2 separate regions of the Homo sapiens genome follow, and region 2 is linked to region 1. Evidence: promoter capture Hi-C in human tissues and cell types (Jung and others, 2019). All regions are on one chromosome and are shown on one strand. The core of a region is centred on a gene start or on the middle of the fragment in contact, and the rest is flanking DNA. Distances in the headings are between cores, read along the strand shown. Region 1 holds the start of TPRKB (TP53RK binding protein). Region 2 overlaps TET3 (tet methylcytosine dioxygenase 3).

Region 1 (4,413 bases), core at 742-3,241:
GAAGGGATAGCATTAGGAGATATACCTAATGTAAACGATGAGTTAATGGGTGCAGCATACAAACATGGCACATGTATACAGATGTAACAAACCTGCACGTTGTGCACATGTACCCTAGAACTTAAAGTATAAAAATAAAAAAAAAGGATAAAGTATCCCACTTGACCCAAAGATATTCATTCCACGCATGGAAATTAAGCAGAGAGGGTACAATTATTAAATAATCAATGTCGCTCCTTTCTTGGACATAAGCTTAACAAGAAAAGGATAGGTTATTATATATAAAGACATAAAAGAAACATAAAAGACAACTTGAATAACCAGAAAGACATGACCATATCTTTGAATGGAAAAACTATGTATTGCAAAAATTTCTTTAAAACAATTTCTATCAAATTCTTAATAAAATATTTTGGTGGGGCAATTTGAGACTCATTTTATCCTTTTACCTGGCAGATTATATTTCTAGAACTCTTTCTGATGGAAGTCATTAGGAATCCAATAATTATATAAGATGTTCCTCTCATTATTTTAACAGTAAAAAGTTGCAAATAACCTATCTAGCTAATGATGGGATTAGTTGTTATTTAACAACCATTAAAACATGTGGTCTTGACGGTGTGTAAAAACGGCAATAAATAACATTAAGTAAGTAAAAACATCTGAATGGAAAACAAAACACAAACTGGCCAAAATGTGGGTTTTTTAAAAGGCTTTTAAACAAATATTAAAAAGAAAATACACCAAAAAGTTAATGTTATCTCTTATTTAGAATTAATTTGACTTTTTCTGTTACAAACAGAAAAAAATATATTTGTGAACGATATCCTGGCACACAGTTCAATCATTAGTCATGCTAAGGTGGAAAAAATGGATACAGAAAGACATAATCAGTAGGATCCCAATTATATAAAAAGATACACATATTTTTTTAAAATACATGAAAGAAACACTAAAATATGACCATCTTGGGTAGTGAGGTTATGAGGTGATTTTTATTGTCCTTTATATAAAAGAAAATATTTTGTTATGTATGTTCTGAATTTTCTACAGTAAGCACACAAAACATGAGTACACATAATAAGAAAGGAAAAAAACGTGCTTTTTAACACTGAGTGGGGGGAAGAACCCTTAGAAAACTTCAAAATAGTTTGTTCTTGTTTAGCGTAATTTACTCACTCAGGTCAGAAACTTGGAATCATCGTTGAGACCCAACCTGTCACTCAAATCCTATATCTAATCCGTAAAGTCCTGAATTTTCACCTGCTAAATATACTTTTGATTCGTCCACTTCTCTCCCATACGCTAGGTCACATCGCTCATCTACAGCAGTAGCCTTCTGAGTGGTTTCTCACAATTCCTGCCCTCCTATAATCCAGTCGTCACCAGCAGTTACAGTGATCCTTTCAAAATGTACATCAGATCTTGTCATTCTGCTGCTCTTATGATAAAGCCCCAACTTTGTGTCACGGTGTTCCACACTCTACGATCTGGTCCCTGCCTCTCCTCTTCTGCTACCGCCGCAATGGCCTTCTCTAAGCTCAAGTCACCAACCTTTCTCCCCGATTCTGCCCTATCGGACAGGTAGTTCCCTCTCTCCTTTCATCTCCGCCTGACGCACTCCTCCCTCCCTTCAACTCCATTTGGAGTCCATTTACTACAGCGCCCAGAACCCCGGCACTACGGCTCTTTTTAGTCTGAGGACTAGCTCCTTTTTGGGCCCAATCACAACTCTGAAGAATCCTGCGCCTATCCGCTGCATGTCTCCTCACTAAACTATTTCTTGAGGGGACAGCCTGACTCTATCATTCTCGTGCTGCATTCCCAGGGGCTGGCCTCGTTGCCGCTTGAGAAATACCAACCGCAGCCGTTGTCCCAAAGACACTACTAAAACTGCCCGGACCCTCCCGCTCCCGAGCCTGCCCGTTAGAGCGCAAGGAAAACTCACCATCCGGCCCCCAGTGCGTCTCGGAAGAGCTCCCGCTCCGAAACAAAGCTCACAACTTCCGGAAGCGATGGCCAATCCCCGTCTTCTTCGAGCCAGTTTCCGGATAGGCCGGCTCGGGGTGGCCATCTGTTTCCGGGTCCTGGTAGGAGGGGTGCTTCCGCCCATGGTCCCGCCCATTCTTCCGCCTCCCCAACCTGGGTCCCGTCAACGGACGCGAAGGAGAACAGGGGCTGTATATCACTTCCGGCGAAGGAAATGGAAGAATCTATGGGCTGGGACCGGAAGCTGGGGTCTGGTTTTGAGTCTCGGCTTTGTCTTAACCTGTGTTGGGCGTTGCACCGGGCGACCTCAGTTTCTTCCTGTACAAGGAAAAGTACTGACCAAAATGAGTTCTACATACATTTCCGCTGCTGGAGATTTCTTTGGTTTTTGAGACAGAGTCTTGCTCTGTTACTCAGGCTGGAGTGCTGTGGTGCAATCTCGGCTCACTGCAACCTCCGCGTCCCGGTTCAAGCCATTCTCCTGCCTCAGCCTCCCGAGCAGCTGGGACTACAGGCACCCGCCACCACGCCCCGCTAATTTTTTGTATTTTTAGTAGAGACGGGGTTTCACCGTGTTAGCTAGGATGGTCTGGATCACCTGACCTCGTGATCCACCCGCCTTGGCCTCCCAAGGAGCTGGGATTAGTTCTTTTTCTGGGCCATGTCTCCTGTGACACTTTGGACTTTTGAGTTTAATGCTGGAACAAGTTAAAATTTTGGTAGGTGATTGGGAAGGCATGATTATGTTTTGCAATGTCAGAAGGACATGAGATTTGGGGGTCCAGGGATGGATTGAATATATGTCCCTGCCAAATCTCATGTTGAATTGTCCCCATTTTTGGAGGTGGGACCTGATGGGAGGTGTTTGGGTCATGGAAGTGGATCTCTCATGGCTTGGTGTCTTTGCAATAGTGAGTGAGTGCCAGGAAGATGTGGTTATTTAGAAGTGTGTGGCACCCTCCAACACAGTCTCTTGGTCCAGTTCTCACCATGTGATGTGCCTGCTCTCTCTTCTCCTTCTGCCAATAGTAAAAGCTCCCTGGGGCCTCCTCAGAGGCCAAACAGATGGTGGTACTATGCTTCCTGTACAGCCTGCAGAAACATGAGCCAATTTAACCTCGTTTCTATATAAATTACCCAGTCTCAGGTATTTCTTTGTGGCAATGCAACAGCCTAATTGCAGGGGGCAGGGGCAGGGGGAAGAGGTGGGGAGGCATGACACACTGGGCTAAAACATGAAGAACATTCGGCCAGGTGCGGTGGCTCACGCCTGTAATCCCAACACTTTGGGAGGCCGAGGCAGGCAGATCACCTGAAGTCGGGAGTTCGAGACCAGCTTGACCAACGTGGAGAAACCCCGTCTCTACTAAAAAATAAAAAATTAGCCAGGCATGGTGGCTCATGCCTGTAATGCCAGCTACTCAAGAGACTGAGGCAGGAGAATCACGTGATCTGGGGAGGCAGAGGTTGCCATGAGCTGAGATCGCGCCATTGCACTCCAGCCTGGGCAACAAGAGTGAAACTCCCTCTCAAAAAAAAATAAATAAATAAAAATTAAAATTAAAAAAAATATATATATATATATATACATATATATATGAAGGACATTCTATTTCTGGGAGACACTGGAACAGGGCCCTGGCTGGTCTGGTTAGTCTCTCTCTATCACAGGATGCTACATTCCCAGCACATTCTACAGTTATCCTAGAGAACCACAAGTGAGAAAGGAGAGAGAACTAAATTGGTCCAAGGCCACCTGGAGAACTGTCCTGCAGTCTATGCCCTTAACCCAGATTATACCCTTTAGCAAAGCTAGTCCGTTTCATATGCCCACCAACCTCCTAGTATCTGGAGGCGGAAGTTTGTCTTATCAGATCGATGTAACACCTTCACAGACACAATGTCAGTACAACATTGTTGAGCCATAGCCAGAATACATTTTACTAGGCCCAGGAGGACTACATCACAAACAGGTTGATCAGGTCTGTCTGGAGCATCAACCTAGTCCAGGATCCAGTGATCCAGGTAAGAACATAATAGGTCAAAGGTGCCAGCCCACCAAGATCTTATTAGTTGTCATGATGTTTTGCCACCTTAGGCCAATTAAGTCTACCTCCCTCCCATGTGGCAGATGTTAGATCCTCACTCAGTAAGCCAGGGCTCAGGTTCTGTTGATATTCACTGTGCCACTATAATACTGGTAGAGTTTACTACTGGCAGGACGAGAAGGTTGCTGTAGCCTGTGACATAATGGGGTCTGGGATGACAGATCCAGCACTTTCCTATGGTAGCCACAGCTTGGGAGAGCCTAACAAACGCGTTATGCTTCTAGGCCTCTGCAGTCACGTCCTTGTGGAAAAAGCAGACTGACAGGTTAGTGCCCTGCCCCTTACACTTCCTGCATCCTCGGGTATTCCCTACCTA
Region 2 (4,413 bases), core at 697-3,196, 290 kb after region 1:
TCTGGCTGACTTAGCATAACATTTTCAAGGTTCATCCATGTTGTAGCCTGTGTCAATACTTTATTCCTTTTCATGACTGCATAATATTCCATTGTATGCACAGACCACATTTTGTTTATCCATTCTTTAGTCACTGGACATGTAGGTTATTTTCACTTTGGGCTGTTATGAATAATGCTGCTATGAACATTTATATACACGTTTTTGTGTGAACATGCCCATTTTAAAATTGGGGTTTTTTGGTTAAGGGGTTGTAAGAGTTTGTTATCTCTTCTATATGAGTTCCTTGAATATGATTATATGTATATATGTATATGATTTATAAATTTTTTTCCCATTGTGTGGGTTTTTTTCACTTTTTTTTTAAGAGGCAGGGTCTTACTCTGTCATCTGGGCTAGAGTGCAGTGGAGTGATCATGGCTCACTGCACCTGGAACCCCTGGGCTCAGGGGATCCTCCTGCCTCAGCCTCCCAAGTAGCTAGGACTACAGATGTGTGCCACCACCATGCCTGCCTAATTTTAAAAAAAAAATTATGTAGAGCAGGGGTCTTGCTTTGTTGCCTGGGCTGGTCTCAGACTCCTGGCATCAAGCAATTCTTCAGCCACCCAAAGTGCTGGAATTACAGATTTGAGTTACCATGCCTAGCCGTTTTTTTTTTCACTTTCTTGATGGTGTCCTTTGAAACTCAAAAGTTTTTAATTTTGATGAAGTACAGTTTATCTTTTTTCTTTTGGTCTCATATCTGAGAAAGTTCTGCCTAATCCAAGATAATAAATATTTATGTCTGTTTTAGAGTTTTATAGTTTTAGTTCTTACACTTGGGTCTTTGATCCATTTTGAGTGAGTTTTTGTATATGGTGTGAGGCAGGGGTTCACATGCTGTTGCAACTGGATAACCAGTTGTCCCAATTAAAAGACTGTTCTTTTCCCATTTAATTATCTTAGTGTCTTCTCACTGTTTTGTAGATGTTTATAGTAGATGAGAGAGCTAGATTGGTCTTTATAGCTTTTTTATTGGTTACTTGCATGTATTGTTTGGTATTAACATTTACATGATGTACATCAGTTATCTTCAAAATTTCTGGTGAAGGACTAAGTTTTAAAAATTTCTAATTCATGGACTGATAATTTTGTAAAAATAAGAATGAATTACTAGAAAAATGATCATGTGCTTAGATGCCATGACAATGTCAAATTGTGATACAAGTGTCTAAAGTTAACACTCTTAGCTTTTGTATTTACCTTGTCACAGACTAATGGAGATAGCAGAATAGTGCTAGTCCATAGATCACACTTACAGGAGTCCTGGCCAAGACTCAGCTGGCCATGCTCAATCTGCTTATCTCTTGCTGGGCATGTCTTCAACCAGTGTTTGTAGAACCATGGGCCTTAGGGGGTCTCATGATTGTTACCTTGGGGTACTGGAACAGCAAATACTAGTGTTACTACTGCTTCTCCTCCAATCTTGAAAGGGGCAGTTGTCCCCAAAGGCTTACTAGACACGTACCTTTTATATTTGTAGTCACCCAAATAAGATGAAGCCCTTGTACTAATGTGAGTAAAATCCTACCCCTACCTGTTGTTATCAAGGTTGCTTCCTACAGCCTTCAAGGTTGAGTAGAATCCATCCATTCAGCCTTTAGTGCCAAGTTGCCATCCCTGTTCTCAAGGGAATAATAAGCCCAAATAGACATGGAAGGAGGAGGAAAGACACTATTCCAACAGTCAATACGTCCCTTGGGAATATAGCAAACAGGAGAAAACCTAGAGATTCAGCCTCCGGGGCCCTGTGTGTGCTATATACATGCCAGAGAAAACAGTACAGCTATTAAAAATGAAATTCTTGAAGAATAGTTAACAATATAGGAAAATGTTTATACAGTTAGGGAAGAAATTAGCATATGAGAAAAAACCACTGATATACTCAGTCATCCCAGTTTTGTAAATTAAGTGTATGTTGCATAGTTAAAAAAGATACCAAATACAAACTATAGTCATCTTTAGGCAGTGGGAGATTTTTACATCTTTTTTATTCTCCACAGTGAAAAGAACCTCTTGTTCTGTCTCTCTCAGCAACTTCTACTGAAGCTGTCCTTTCTGTTCCTTATTCTATGCCTATGACCTCTCTTTATTCTCTTGGATCATCCACCAGGGTTTTCTCTGGCTCTATAATGAGTTTGTAGTATGCCTTTGATATCCTGTCAGTAACTACACTAGTGGCAGCTTCACTTGGAGATAAAGTCACTGTTAATATCAGTTTTCATTGCTTTCATCACATACTCAAAACCACAGAGTATGTATGTAACATGGGTTTATGTTGCCCTGCACATGTTAGTGATAGTGGTACAGTATCAGTTCCTAAAGGAACTTGCCTTTGAATAGGATCTAAGACAAAATCAAACGTCTAAAAAGTCCCTATCCAAGAGAAAGGACTCTGTTTGTTCACTACTCTATCCACAAAGAAGTGATGCGGAATGTATATTTGTTTGAGAGATAAATGAATGAATACATAATTATGTATGCATATAGGAAAGGAATGGTTGTTATGATGTGCTGATAGCATCAGTGAGTGACATCTCATAATTCTGTGGGCTGCAAATACTTATTTTCACTTTTTAAAAAAACTACCTAGTTTTCTCATTTGTGTGCTTGGTTTTACATAGTTGGCAGTCTAAACTTCATACAGTATGGTATTCTGCTATTCTTCCTATTTCATCTAGCTTTTTTCCTTAGTGTTTATAATTGCAGGTTTAGATGAGTGTATAATACTCTGTTGAATTGTATCATAGTTTACCAAACCAAGCCCCTCATACTGAGTTTTCAGCTTTCACTAATGTGTGGAAAGATTTTTTTTAATGCAAACTTATAAGCTCAAGTTTCTAGGAATAGCACTGCTTGATGGAAGTAGTCTTTATTGCTCTTGATAACATTTGTTCATGTGTTCATTTATTTGCTTATCTACAGATTTATTTACTTATTTATTTTTACTGTTTGAACCAAGACAGAAGTTGTAAGTTGTGAATTAGAAGGCACCCTGGCCTGGGAGCTGGGTGATGGGGGTTCAAGGCTCAGTGGGTTGAATATGAGTCCAACAGTAGTGTTCTGGGGTGGAAGCAGAGGCAGGGGGCCAGTCAAGGAGCCACCTCCTGAGTTTGTCCTTGTGAGAGATAAATGAGGAGAAAACAAAAAGAAGGCAGATCTGAAATGCTCTACAGGAGCAGTTGGCAGGACTAGGGTTTGCTTGCATATGGAAACATCAAGAGGACATCAGAGGGGATGGAAGGGTTTAGCCAGGATGCCCAGGGGAATGGATCTTAACGTGATTTTTTTTTGTAAAGGGATGTCCGGGGGGGAGTTGCTGAGGAAAAGGATGCAGGCGCTGAGTTAAGTTGTAAATGTGATGGGCTTAAGTTGCATTCAAGTGGAAGTGTGTCTGGTAGCTGGAAAGCAGTCAAGGAAAAAGGAAACTTTGGGGCTGTTGGTGCAGGCTGAGCGGTGGGGCCTTGATTGGAGGGGAGGCTTCTGAGGGGAGCATGGGGCGATGGAGAGCAGTGAGGGCAGGAGAGTGGAGAACAGCTCTGTTGAGGGGACGGAGGAGGAAAAGGAGAATGGAGGAGGACCAGTAACCGGCAGGGTCACGGAAACCCAGGGTGGGCAGGTGAGTGGGTGATCTGCTGCCACAGACAGGCCAGAGAGACGAGGGACCCCCGTGGCCTTCCTCATCACCCCGACTCTCAGAAACAGATAATGGTTGCGCAAATGCCTAGGTTCCTGTTCTGTTTCTCCAGCATTGCACCCAGGCCTTTCAGATGAACATGTGCAAACCCAGATTACTGGCATCTTTCAGTTATCTGGGCTAATAAACGAGTAGTGACTGTGGATAATGAAGCTTTACACACTAAGATGAGTTGTGTGACTTTTCCAGGAGTTGAAGTTTAGGATAAAGAGGATTAATTTGTGCTCCCCAATTTCCTGCCTTCTGGACAGCAGCAGGCTTCCCTAAATGGCATTTCCTAGCCTACTCTGTGAAGTTGATCTTGTGGCTGGTAGGTGGATACCCTCTGCCAAAAATTAATTTTCCTCTAGATTTTTGGGTGGTCACTTAAAGATTTATTTCTTTGAATGAAAAACTTAGGTCTTAAGTCCTTCAGAAAGGATTGAGTGGGGGCAAACACACAGGGATTCCTGTGAAAAGCTGAAATCCATGAATATTTATTGAGGCACATGTGGGAGCTCATTCTCCAAAAGAATGATTAGAACCTTGGTACCTGGGAGGCCATGGGCATCCACTATTGACTCTGATGTTGGATTCTACTTTGCCACTCACCAATTCTGAGCTTTGGAGTATGTTAGTTATCCTCTCTGTACCTCATCTACTAAAATGGATGTGGAATTGTTGGAAGAATAGAAA

Evidence for each region. Contacts are between HindIII fragments. The study calls those that stand out against the background at their distance.
Region 2: a contact is called between a fragment that was not itself captured here and the fragment with the promoter of TPRKB in region 1, in 1 of the 25 tissues and cell types used here (aorta).

Annotation. Positions count from the first base shown.
Region 1 is chr2:73,735,354-73,739,766 of GRCh38, forward strand. It overlaps TPRKB (TP53RK binding protein), which reads right to left and starts at 1,992. Exons shown (of 5, transcript NM_016058.5): 1 at 1,949-1,992. RefSeq lists enhancers at 2,254-2,333, 2,374-2,433. The HindIII fragment of the contact is 20,385 bases long and covers 1-4,413 here.
Region 2 is chr2:74,027,636-74,032,048 of GRCh38, forward strand. The region is part of intron 3 of TET3 (tet methylcytosine dioxygenase 3); the gene reads left to right. Among named protein-coding and RNA genes, the nearest start is that of TET3, 45 kb to the left of the region's middle. RefSeq lists enhancers at 3,129-3,630, 3,631-4,130. The HindIII fragment of the contact is 7,139 bases long and covers 1-4,413 here.